Regions from separate parts of the Homo sapiens genome. Here all the other regions are linked to region 3. The links are contacts of gene promoters, found by promoter capture Hi-C in blood cells and fetal thymus (Javierre and others, 2016). All regions are on one chromosome and are shown on one strand. The core of a region is centred on a gene start or on the middle of the fragment in contact, and the rest is flanking DNA. Distances in the headings are between cores, read along the strand shown.

Region 1 (2,776 bases), core at 59-2,558, 370 kb after region 3:
AGCCAAAACAATCTTGAAAAACAACAAAGTTGGAAGACTCACACGTCCTGACTTCAGTGGGGACAGACACACAGACAGTTCTATATTGCAACATGCAGACCAATGGAAAAGAAGAAAGTCCAGAAATCAACTCTTACACATATGGTCAAATGATTTTTGAAAAGACTTGCAAGACCATTCCATGGGGAAAATAAGTTTTTTTCAGTAAATGTTGCTGGGGAAACTTGATATCCATATGCAAATGGATAAAGTTGGAACCTTATTTTACACAACATACAAAAAATCAACTAGAAATGGATCAAAGACCTAAACATAAGAACTAAACTTACAAAATTATAGGGTAAAAGCTTCATAATATTGAATTTGGCAATAATTTTTTTGATATGACACCAAAAGCACAGGCAATAAAAGAAAAAAGTGAGATACAGCAAAATTTAAATGTGTGCAACGAAGAACACAATCAAGAGTGAAAAGGCAATCTAAAGAATGAAAGAGAGTATTTGCAAATCATATAGCTGATAAAGCATTAACATGAGTACACAAAGCACTCCTACAACTCACACCAAACAACCCAATATAAAACTGGGCAAATGACTTGAATAGACATTTCTCCAAGGAAGATATATAAATGGTCAAAAAGTACATTAAAAGATGCTCTACATCACTATCATTAGGGAAATGCAAACTAAAATCACAAGATACCACCTCACATCACTTAGGATGGCTACCATCAAAAAATAAAAATAACAAGTGTTAGCAAGCATATGGAGAAATTGGAACTCTTGTGTACTATTGGTGGGAATATAAAATTGTGTAGCCCCTTATGGAAAGTGTATGTATGGCACTTTCTAAACAAATTTAAAATGGAATTACCATATGATCTAGCAATTCTACTTCTAGGTATATAACCAAAAGAATTGGAAAAAAAAATGGTTGTTTTTTAATATCTCTAAAAGTGAAGAAAAAAAGGTCTTGAACAAATACTTGTACACCCATGATCACAGCAGCGTTATTCACAATAGCCAAAGGTGGAGGCAACCCAAGTGTCCATTGACAGATGAATGGACAAACAAAATGTGGTATATACACACACTGGAATATTATGCAACCTTAAAATGCAAGGAAATTTGGACACATGGACAAACCTTGAGGACATTATACCAAGTGAAATAAGACAGTCGCAAAAAGACAAATGTATGATTCCACTTATATGAGGTACCTAGAACAGACAACTCGTAAGAGACAGAAAGTAGAATGGTGGTTGCCAAGAGCTTGGGGGAGGAAGGAGAGTTCTTTGATAGGTAGAGTTAAAATTTTGCAAGATGAGAAGATTTCTGAAGATGAATGGTGGTGATGGCGATACATTGTGAACATACTCAATGCCACTGAGCGGTAAAACTGTTTAAGATAGTAAATCTTAAAACCGGAAGGGGAAGAAAAAAAGCCAAGCATGAGAGTGCATGCCTATAGTCCCAGCCACTTGGGAGGAGACTGAGGCAGGAAGATTGCTTGAGCCTGGGAGTTCAAGGCTGCAGGGAGCTAGGATCACACCACTGCACTTCAGCCTGGGCGACACAGTAAGAACCCATCTCTTAAAAAACAAACAAAATCCCCCACAACTCTGTATCATCATAGCCAAGTTGTCAAAGTTAGTATCATCAATTCTGGGACAAAACTAAAGTCTATGTTCTTGGAAGAAATATGCTGAAGTATTTGGGGCTCAAGGGGCAAGTTGTCGGCAAGTTACTCTGAGTCTGCAAAAATAGCTCTATGCATATACAAGATGACAGAGTCAATGACGTGGCAAAACGTTAACACTTGGTAAATATCAGTGAGTATACCGGAGTTTATTTACTATTTTTGCAACTACTATAAATTGGAAATATCTTCAAAATTAAAGGTTTTTCTGGCCAGCTAGGTTTGAGCTGCCATAAAACCAACACCAAGGATCATTTATATAGAAACTAATTTTTTCCTTCAAACACAGTACAGGAGAATCTCTTACCATTTTGAATTCCCCGGGTATGGTTTAAAACTTTTTACTTGCCAACATCGTTAAAGTTTTACCCTGTAATAGTGAAATTTTCAGGTAATTGGAGCTTACCCCATTAAATGACAAAATTGTGTAACTTAAAAATCTTTCTTAAATACAACCTTTGTTGTCTTTGTTTCAAATTTATTTTTTAATGATCAGTGTAAGGCTTCACTAGATGCCTCTGCTTTTTCCTTCTCAAGTGTTTTTGAGGGTATTTGTATGAAACATTGCAGAAAAGCTTAGGTTTTTGTCTCCATCTAGTGGCTAGCTATTACCTTCTAATGCCTTTATGCACCTGCTTTTTACAAAGCACTATATCCCACTGTGCTTCTGCGTTTGCTGGAAGTAAATAGTTTGAGAGTTTCTTGTGAGCAGTGTTTTAGTATCTAAACTTCATTATTTTAGCTGTTCAAAGGCTTTTTTGGCCAAAAGTAGTTTTATGTGTTTCTGAAGATCAAGGTGCCAATCCGTATCAGAATAGGATTTCTGAAATTAAAATAATCTAGTTGATAAAACGTTCTTGGGCCTCGTCATCTTGACCTTAAGAGACCTCTCATAATTAAGTCTATAGAGACTATTATCACAAAAATAGAGCAACAAGAAACATAGCTACAAGCTATAATTTTTCTCTCTCCTCTAACTGCTCAACTGCTCTAAGCTTTCGGCATAGTGATTTTCAGTTATATCCATATTTCCTTGAAGACAGTAGTATTTCTTGATCTTTTCTCTGTTATAAGCCCC
Region 2 (2,838 bases), core at 213-2,712, 420 kb after region 3:
CTGGGACTACAGGTGTATGCCACCACACTCGGCTAATTTTTGCATTTTTTTGTAGAGACGAAGTAGGGGGGTGGGGTAGGGGCGTAGGGGGGTGGGGTACGGGCATGGGGGGTGGGGGTGGTGTTGGTCTCACTATGTTGCCCAGGCTGGTCTCGAACTCCTGGGCTCAAGCCATCGGCCGCCTACGCCTCCCAAAGTGCTGGGATTACAGGCATAATCCACCGCACCTGGCTTAGGAAAGTGTTTTTAAGCAGTGCATGCCTGGAAAACGCTTTGCAGTCATTAGAATTCACTGTCCTACGTAAGGAAAAGCAATGAACTCAAAACAGTAAAGGGCTTAACGCTTAAACAATTATTTAAGCACTCAAGTTTTCTTTTTAATTTTCAATTTTTGTGGGTACATAGAGGGTGTATTTATTTATGGTGTATTTAAGAACTTTTGTAACAGAACGCCCCAACAGGACTAGCACACAAAGGGAAAGCAAATGCGACGTGTTTCCCACACCAGGTTCTGCCTCACTTATCCTTAATCTCAGGTGCCAAGCACCGTGCCAGCAGAGTGGGCCCCAGTAACAGCTTACAGAATAAACAAACAGTAAAGAAAGGAGACCAAACTTCGGTGAGGAGGAAGAGGAACGATCTCAAGGTGGAGGAAAGGCACAAAAACCACCAGTAAGTGCCAGAAGCGCATTCCTTACTCTATGCATGCAACTGAAACATGGGTCCTGCACTTACGTCCGGTGTTGCAAGCAAGATTAAACCACTCCTAACTAGCAGTGAAAAGTCTAGGAAGGATCCCCCGCCCCAACGCCCCTTGGATTCTCCAACTACTCAACTACTGAAAACTCTCTTAACAGAAGACACCTCTCCTTCCCTGCACACAATAGGAGCTTAACATATGAAAGTGACTTCCCAATTTCAGCAAAAACCTTCGCCGATTCAGAAGAAAGCTTTCCCACCAGAATCCCCTCTCCAACGTTCTAGCTTCGACGCTTGCAGCTGGTCAGAGGGCTCTTGCCCTCCTCGGGCCGGGTCGCGGGAGGGAAGGTTTCGGGGGGCCTCCTTGCCCCCACCCGCGGGGTGCCAGGCCAAGCCCCGCCGAGTAACTGCTCCGCCTCCCAGCCCGGTCCCCCAGGTCCCTGCCCCACCTGACTGGTCGCCGCTGTAATATTCCGAGTCCATGGCAGGCGGACTCTCAGCGGGGAGTGTCCGCGCCCCGCGCCGCCCCCGTCACCTCCTTCCAGGCGGTGTGACCCCGGATGGCGCGGCTAAGTGTTCAGAGACTGCCGCCCGACCGGAGAACTTAACGGGTGCGGAGGGTAAGAAAGCGGTAGCGGCAAAGGCGAATTCTTTGACCTGGAAGCCCCGGCGGAAAAGGCCGTACCCGGCAGGCTGGCGGGCGGGCAGGCATGCGAGCCGGCGTTCTACTTCCTAGAAGCACCGCTGGGGCCAAAATGGCGTCTGCCCACGACCCTCAAAGGAATGCAGCGCGCAGGCGCCGCAACCCGTCAACCGGCCAATGAGAAGACGCAACAGCAATGACGCCAGGCACGGCCGGAAAGGAGACTCCTGGGAAAATTGAGCTGGAACTCGGGCTTTAGTTAAATACCTTCCTCGGGTGGATCCTGGTCTGACCCCCGTGGTAATAACGTTATCATTGATTCTTTATCATTTCCTAGATTCTGTGTCCGTGCCTTGTTTGAAGAGCTTTTGAGATACTCTTCCGAAAAATGAAGACCTGCTCAAATGACTTTTCCGTCATTCAGCCAAACCACTGTCTTTCCCGTCAGGCCCAGAGGCGCCTGGTTCCCGCCCGCAGTAGGCAAGAAAGCGGGCGTTGCTCACTGGGACTTGTAGTATGACGCCCGCGAGCTGTGATGCGTTACTAACTGGCGCGATCCACAGCGCCTCCTCTCCCGGCGTCTTCCTCTCTTTCATTCTAAACAACGATTTAATTTCCTTGTTAAGAAGCCATTTAGCCAACAGTAAGAAGTACACGTCTTTGCTTCCAGAAGGGTTCCCCTGATGAAACACCGGAGGAAGGTGAAGTTGAACTTTACCTGAGCCCTGTGTTCCTGGAAAACAGCGGTGATTAAGAAACCCCCTCATCTATTTGTGTTTCTGGAACGGCACACTGTAAAGAACCACCCGTCTCCATGTGACTCAGATAAAACGCGTGCAGATGACCCCCTTGTTTGCCTGTGACAAGGCCAGAGACCTTTCCCCTTTATTCTGAGCCTGTTAATAAAGCCAAACAGACCTTCCAAATTCCCGCTGATGATATCGAGTGATTAGTTGAGATTAGAACTCTCCTCCCCCCAACTTGTTAGACACAGAGAACATTTCCTGTTCACCTGACTGAAACTTCTCCTGATTGCAAAACAATCCCAACTGTCAATCATCCCACCTTCCTCCCTATAAAAGTCAAAACTACGCTGCCAAGACACTGATCATATCTGGAGTGCTCTCCCTATTGCAATAGGCTGAGTAAAATCCATTTCCTTACTTGTTCATTTTAGTCTTGGACAGAGAGGGGAACATTCTTGCCTTTGGATCGGAGGAGGGCCAGTAGAGGTTTAAGCAAAGACTCCCCAGGAGGTGTAGACATGTAGAAAAAGAGCCTTTTGTTACTACTGCAGATATCTGACCCTTCGTTAGCCAGTCAGAGTATGCTGGCAGAGCCCAATTATAGGCTCCTGAAGAGGACGTGGGAAGAGAAGAAAGGGGAGAAGTGGTTTCTCTCTGGAAATTCCCATTTTCCTGCAAGAGAGTTCATGGATATTCCTTTCCGAAGTGGTGGAAACAGCATTGAATCCAAATTCCTTCTTTTCAGCTGTG
Region 3 (2,725 bases), core at 123-2,622:
CGCCTCCACCCGGCGGCCGCGCAGCGGGTGGGAGAGGGGGCAGGCCTGGCCGCGGGGCACTGGGGGGCCACCCTGGCAGAAACACAGATTCTGCAATCTCAGATTTCAGAGTTGGAGTCGTCAGGGGAAGTGGCGTCAGCAGCTGGCGTGATCCAATTCAATAAACCAGAGGTGGCTTGGGATAGACAACTGACCGGGTGCAGACCCCCGCCCCTCAATCTCTGCATTTCCTGCACGCTCTGGGCACCCTGGGAGGCCCCGGCTCCATCCCCCATTCCAGCTCTCCGCGAGGAGGGGTCGGGTTTCCTGTGGCGCCTTCCACGCGCCTCCTCCAGGCCAGCTCCCCACCCGGCCGTGGGCTCCCAAAGCCAGTGCCGCCACCCGCTCCCCGGCCGCCGGAAACGCTAAGCCCCTGCTGGGGCGAGGGCACCTCCTTGCGGGGTGCGTAGCCCTGGGCTCCCGGTGGGGCCGGGCTGGGCGGGAGCTTCCAGGCCGCAGGCACCTCTCGGGAAAGGAAACCCAATCCCTCCTTCGGCCCACGGAGAACGAAAGTGGAGAAGCAGTGGGAAGGAAGGAACTGTGGGTGCCGGTTCGAGAAGCAGCCTTGGGAGTCCGGGGGAATAGTGTCCCCAGGGGCAGAGGGACATACTCCCTCTCGCCCCGAGCGCCGGCCCAGCCTAGGTTGCCTGCATGGGCCTGGAGAGCTGAGGGTCACCACCTGGCCTCCCAGCCTCCCGGCCCTTGGCCTCCAAAGCGGGGTAGCCTGGAGCGCGCGCCTGAGAAGAGCCTGGAGCAGGGCCGGCCACTGCTGTGCAGCCGAGCCACGAAGGTGCAAAGCGGGGCCCTGTCCTGCCCCGGCCGGGTGTGGGGAGACAGAGGACGCAAACCTAAGAGGGCACCCAGAGCGCCGGGGAACGCAGCCTGGGGACCTCGAAGCCCCTCGAAAGCGCTCCTCTAGAGGTGACAGCACCAGATCCTGGCGAAGGACCAGGCCCCGGGGTCGGAGGATAGGGGGACAGGTGGCCGGGGCTCCGCGGCGGCTGGGACTCCGCGGCTGCTGGGGCTCCGGCTCGCTCACCTTCTCCTGCGCGCGGGTGAGCTTCTTCTGCACGTTGCTGGCGATCTTTCCCGCCGTCACCCCTTTACTGCCCATCTCTGCCATCGCGGCGCAGGCCTCGCCCGGTGGCAGGGGCCGCTCTCGCGCGGGGAGATCTTGCGCGCCGCGCTCCCAGCCCCCAGCCCCGGCCGCGCGTCCAGACCGGCTGCCGCTCCACGCCGCGCACCCGACAGCGGAGCCAACTGACGGAGGCGGAGCGTGCGCCGGACGGGCGAGCGAGCCAGCGAGCTAGCCAGCGAGCGACGCGGGGACAGAGGGAGGGAGAGGGGAGGGGCCGGGCCTCAGGCCGCGGTCGGCGCCCCCCGCCCGCCCCCTCCGGACAATAAGCTGCCTTTTAAAGGGCCACTCCGGGCGCCGGCACCGCCAGGTCCGCGAGGAGGGAGGGGCGCGCGCGGCGCTGGGGCTGCGGCGAGCGGGACTCCCCTGACGCTCCAGCTGCACCGCCCCGGGGCGGGGACTAATCCGCCGGCCTGGCGTCTTGGTCTTCCCCGCAAGCAGTAATCTCCTGCAACCCAGGAAAGGAGACTAGGTGGAGGAGAGGAGTGCTTTCGAAATCAAAGAGAAAGTGCGGCGAAGGGGGCGCGGCCCTGAACAGAGGAGCCGCGGCTGCTGGGAGAACGCGCCCGGAGCCCCCTCCTTTTCCAGGGGCTCACCTCCCGCCCGGTGCCCGGTGCCCGGTGCCCGACGCTCCGCCTCCTCCCAGCCTTCGGCCCTCGGGTTTTCGCCCGGATACCCTAGGCGCCTCCGGGACATCTCCACATCTTTGCCTACGGCGCCTAGCCCAGTACCAACCGGTGCTTGGTCTTCCCGTTCGCTAAAAATTTATTATAATAACAACAACCTAGCATTACTGAGTGCTTACTGTGTACTAAGTGACTTGACAGGCATTATTTCATTCGGTCTCCGTGGCCCTAGAGGTAGGTGCTATTACTGTTCCTACTTTACAACCAACGCGCCGGGATCGAGGAACGAGATCTCTGCCTCTGTCTCCCAGGTGCTCCACCACCATACGCCGGGTTGTCTCCTACCCCCAGCAGGAAGGAATGATTAGTGATCATTATTCCTGGAGAAGATAAGGTTATTGCTAACCAGCTTTGCCAATAGACCAATGACACTTCTTTTAAGTTAATAAATACGTATTGAGTCTGCTGATACCCACCCCCATTCAGCCCTAAAACATGTCAGGGGCTACAGCACTTTGCTGCCCCTGGAAATTTCTAAAGAACTGTTGATTGAGTTGAGCAGAGAGATAGGTCCCGCTGAAGAGGCCTAGACGTGTCTGGTGCACACACAGGAGCCAGGGCTATGGCCTGCAGGACCCGCAGCGGTCAGAGGAGCAGAGCTGGCCAGGGACAGAGGTCCCTGAGAGGCTTCCTGGAGGAACAGGAAGGGCTCTTGCAGACCACAAACCAAGCAGTTTGTACAAATGGAGAAATCGAGTCCCAGGAATGAGAGGTTCAGCCTGGGTTCACACAGGCCATTCCCTCTTCCCTGGAAGGCCCTCCTGCTCTTTCTCCGGCTACTCGGGGTTCTTCCACCACCGCTCAGTGCTGCCCCATGGCCCAGTGTGTTCGTCTGTCCTCTTCCGGGCCTATTATCATGATGTCC
Region 4 (2,748 bases), core at 1-2,500, 280 kb after region 3:
TAGGGAAAACTAAACTGTATCTGTCTATGTGTTTAGAATTTATCCCATTAAAGAAACTGCCCAGTTAGTCTCATTTTCTAAACGTATTTATTTTTTGCAAGACGAGAAATACAGTCTTACAAAAAGACATCTGCATATTCGAACCAAGCCTTCCTGGATTACTACCTTCATGACCTTGGACAAATGCCTTAATCTCTCTGAGCCTCAAGTTTTCACCTGCAAAATGGGGCAATTTACCCACCTCATTGAGCTGGGAAGATGAAGAGAGATAATGCATGACAACTGCCGGGCGCAGACTAAGAGCACCCTAAGTGCTACCTAAATATTCCGTAAAGAGAAAAGGGGGAAACAACCTTACATCAAAAGATTACCACACTGTGACAGTGCAAAGACAAGCACTTTTTCGCTTACTGCATGTACCATTTCTGCTTCATCCCAAGACCAGATGCAACCTTTCTTCTAAAATCTCTGCAGGGTACGTGTCTGACAGCTAACACAGCCCAGCAGCCTACTTCGCGCTGACCTGGGCTTTAGGACTGGATGCAGGGGGCCCAAGGTCCGCCCTCCCGCAGCTAGGCAATCACCCAGCGAAATCTCCGCCCCTGGAGCGGCGCTTAGGCCGCCGCCAGCCCCCCTCCCGGCGCCCAGCCCGCGGCCCCCGACACACACGCGCGCACACACACACACACACACACACAAGCGCGCGCGCACGCACACACGCACGTACCGGCTGCTCCGCAGGGACGTAGAGAGCCGCAGGCCCAAGGAGGGGCCGCCCCCGCCGAGCCCGCCCCTCCGCCCCAGCGCGGCCTGTCACCGCGGCCCCAGGTCGGGGGCTGCCGCAGGGCCCCCGGGGACCGGAGGGGCGCGCGAGGAGTCGGGCGCGGGCCTTGGGGCCAGGCCCGTCCCTCTTTCACATGAAGCCCGGGCCGGGCGGGGTGGCGGGCGCGTGAATCCTCGCAGCCGGCCGGGTCCTCCTGGCGCTCCTCGGCACTTCTAGCCGCTGCAACCCCGAGGCCCGCGGGAACTGGGCAGGAAAGGAGGAAGCCGCGGGCCCGCGTCGCTAGAGACCGGAGAAGAGGCGGGAGTGGCGACTCTGCGGACAGGGGCGCCGAGCGTCCTGGTCGTTGTTTTCGTCGCCGCCGCGGGCCGTGCAACCCCCGAACGCTGCGCCCAGCGGCCGCGGCACCCTCGTCAGGCGCCGCCGCTGAGGGCAGGCAGCCCGGCAGCCACTACACACGGACCCGTGACGTCGGGCGTAGCGCGGCGCACGTCACGGCCGCTCGCTCGTGCGCGCGCACCCCTCCGCCCGGCGGTAGCGGAACCCGCCGCGGGCGCGCGCCCGGCCCAGGGGAGTGGGTCGGCGCCTGCGCAGAGGCCCGCCACGCCCACACACAGGCCACCGCCCCCACCGGCCGGACGGCGCGGGGATTCCCAGTCCTGGCTCCGCCCCGGCCTCGGCCCCGCCCCCGCCCCTGCCCCGGGGCAGCCTGTGCTGTTCCGTGTGCGCGGCGCATACGCACCTGGGTTGTCTCGAGCCTGCGGTAGTGGCCAGATCCCAGACATCCGAGTAGATCCCGTGAAAAGGTCTCCCACGTGGGCTGTGGACAGGGCCCAAGGGTAGCAGAGCTAGCAGAGGCAGTGACGGACTGTGTGGCAGGTCATTTGCAAGGAGAAAAGCCGTCTGCCTCTTAATTTGTGGCTCAAGTTTCAGAATTTTTTTCCTGAGGGACTTTAGAAATTACTTCAGGCTTGCCACCTAACCTTAAACCACCCCCTTGGAGACTGGCTAAGTGTTATTTGTGTTTTCTGTTTAGTTCTTATCACCATCGATACTTGGTTATGACTGGTTGTGTACATTGGTTAGCCCAGCAAGTATTACTTCTCCAGCTTAACAGATGTGGAAACTTAAGCCCAGAGACATGAGTTGACACCCCACCCCCAAAGCTAGAGTCTAAAACCCTTTCTTTCGCTCCTCATCTCCCACAGGATAAAATGCAAATTAATCAGACTAGTGGTGAGGCCCTCCGTGGTGTGACTAACCTGCATCCCGACGTTTTCACCCTACTTTGATCCAGAAAGCACCTTTCCGCCCCATCTCTTCTCCTTTCCTTAAATACCCCTTACAACTTCCTGTACCATTCTTCCCTGTTCAGCTTCTTCTTGGTTTCTTCGTACATTCTGGATCCACCCCTTTCATGCATATTCCAGACCACATTTCCACTGGAGCAGTTGAAATGAGAGAGATGGGAATGGGACTCACCCGAACCAGAGGTAAGGAGCTACCCAACTTGGGCTCTGAGGGTCAAGGGAGCTGGCACTTGTGGGGCAGAGACTGAGGGAGAAACTGTTGTGTAATGTCAAAATATCTCTGGGTTTCTTCCAGGAATTTTTATTACAGACCCATTAACAGAGGTGTCAAAGTCACAGGAACAAGGATGTGCACCTCAGAAACACAGAGGTCAGTGGAAAATCAGTTTGCTTCTATTTGTTTAAAAAATGGGGGACTTATGCATAAATCTAAGACCTTCTTGAATCTAACATTCTAAGACCTGTATGCCACAGAAAGGAGGGTCTCAGAACGCCGGAGGATAGTATTTAAATCTTAAATATCTATATTGTTCTCCACAGTTACTGGGTCACCACATAGCAGGCATTCAATAAAAACGTGTTTGTTTACTAAGTAATCTAGAGATAAATTTTTTCCCCTCATAGTGCTGCTCATTTCTCCACTCCCTTCCCTCACTT

What was found. The method cuts DNA at HindIII sites, captures the fragments that hold promoters and counts their contacts. A CHiCAGO score of 5 or more calls a contact.
Region 1: a contact is called between a fragment that was not itself captured here and the fragment with the promoter of BIN1 in region 3, in 3 of 17 cell types (fetal thymus, total B cells and naive B cells). The highest score is 7.5, in fetal thymus.
Region 2: a contact is called between the fragment with the promoter of IWS1 here and the fragment with the promoter of BIN1 in region 3, in 4 of 17 cell types (total B cells, monocytes, M0 macrophages and 1 more). The highest score is 6.2, in total B cells.
Region 4: the fragment with the promoter of MAP3K2 here is called in contact with the fragment with the promoter of BIN1 in region 3 in 2 of 17 cell types (total CD8 T cells and naive CD4 T cells); the score reaches 5.3 in total CD8 T cells.

The regions. Positions count from the first base shown.
Region 1 is chr2:127,477,123-127,479,898 of GRCh38, forward strand. No RefSeq gene overlaps it. Among named protein-coding and RNA genes, the nearest start is that of IWS1, 48 kb to the right of the region's middle. RefSeq lists an enhancer at 2,685-2,776. The HindIII fragment of the contact is 1,926 bases long and covers 346-2,271 here.
Region 2 is chr2:127,525,027-127,527,864 of GRCh38, forward strand. IWS1 (interacts with SUPT6H, CTD assembly factor 1) reads right to left here and starts at 1,463. Exons shown (of 14, transcript NM_017969.3): 1 at 1,149-1,463. The coding sequence starts at 1,182. RefSeq lists enhancers at 673-1,372, 703-782, 793-852, 1,383-1,442, 1,703-1,752 and 1 more and silencers at 1,033-1,142, 1,784-1,957. The HindIII fragment of the contact is 4,097 bases long and covers 949-2,838 here.
Region 3 is chr2:127,105,782-127,108,506 of GRCh38, forward strand. It overlaps BIN1 (bridging integrator 1), which reads right to left and starts at 1,373. Exons shown (of 19, transcript NM_139343.3): 1 at 1,079-1,373. The coding sequence starts at 1,162. LOC105373605 (a long non-coding RNA gene) reads left to right here and starts at 1,364. Exons shown (of 4, transcript XR_923311.4): 1 at 1,364-2,034. RefSeq lists silencers at 1,221-1,430, 1,312-1,606, 1,441-1,500. The HindIII fragment of the contact is 12,156 bases long and covers 1-2,725 here.
Region 4 is chr2:127,386,725-127,389,472 of GRCh38, forward strand. It overlaps MAP3K2 (mitogen-activated protein kinase kinase kinase 2), which reads right to left and starts at 1,251. Exons shown (of 17, transcript NM_001371910.2): 1 at 728-1,251. MAP3K2-DT (MAP3K2 divergent transcript) reads left to right here and starts at 714. Exons shown (of 4, transcript NR_187129.1): 1 at 714-828; 2 at 2,157-2,274; 3 at 2,387-2,461. RefSeq lists a silencer at 671-1,540. The HindIII fragment of the contact is 12,520 bases long and covers 1-2,748 here.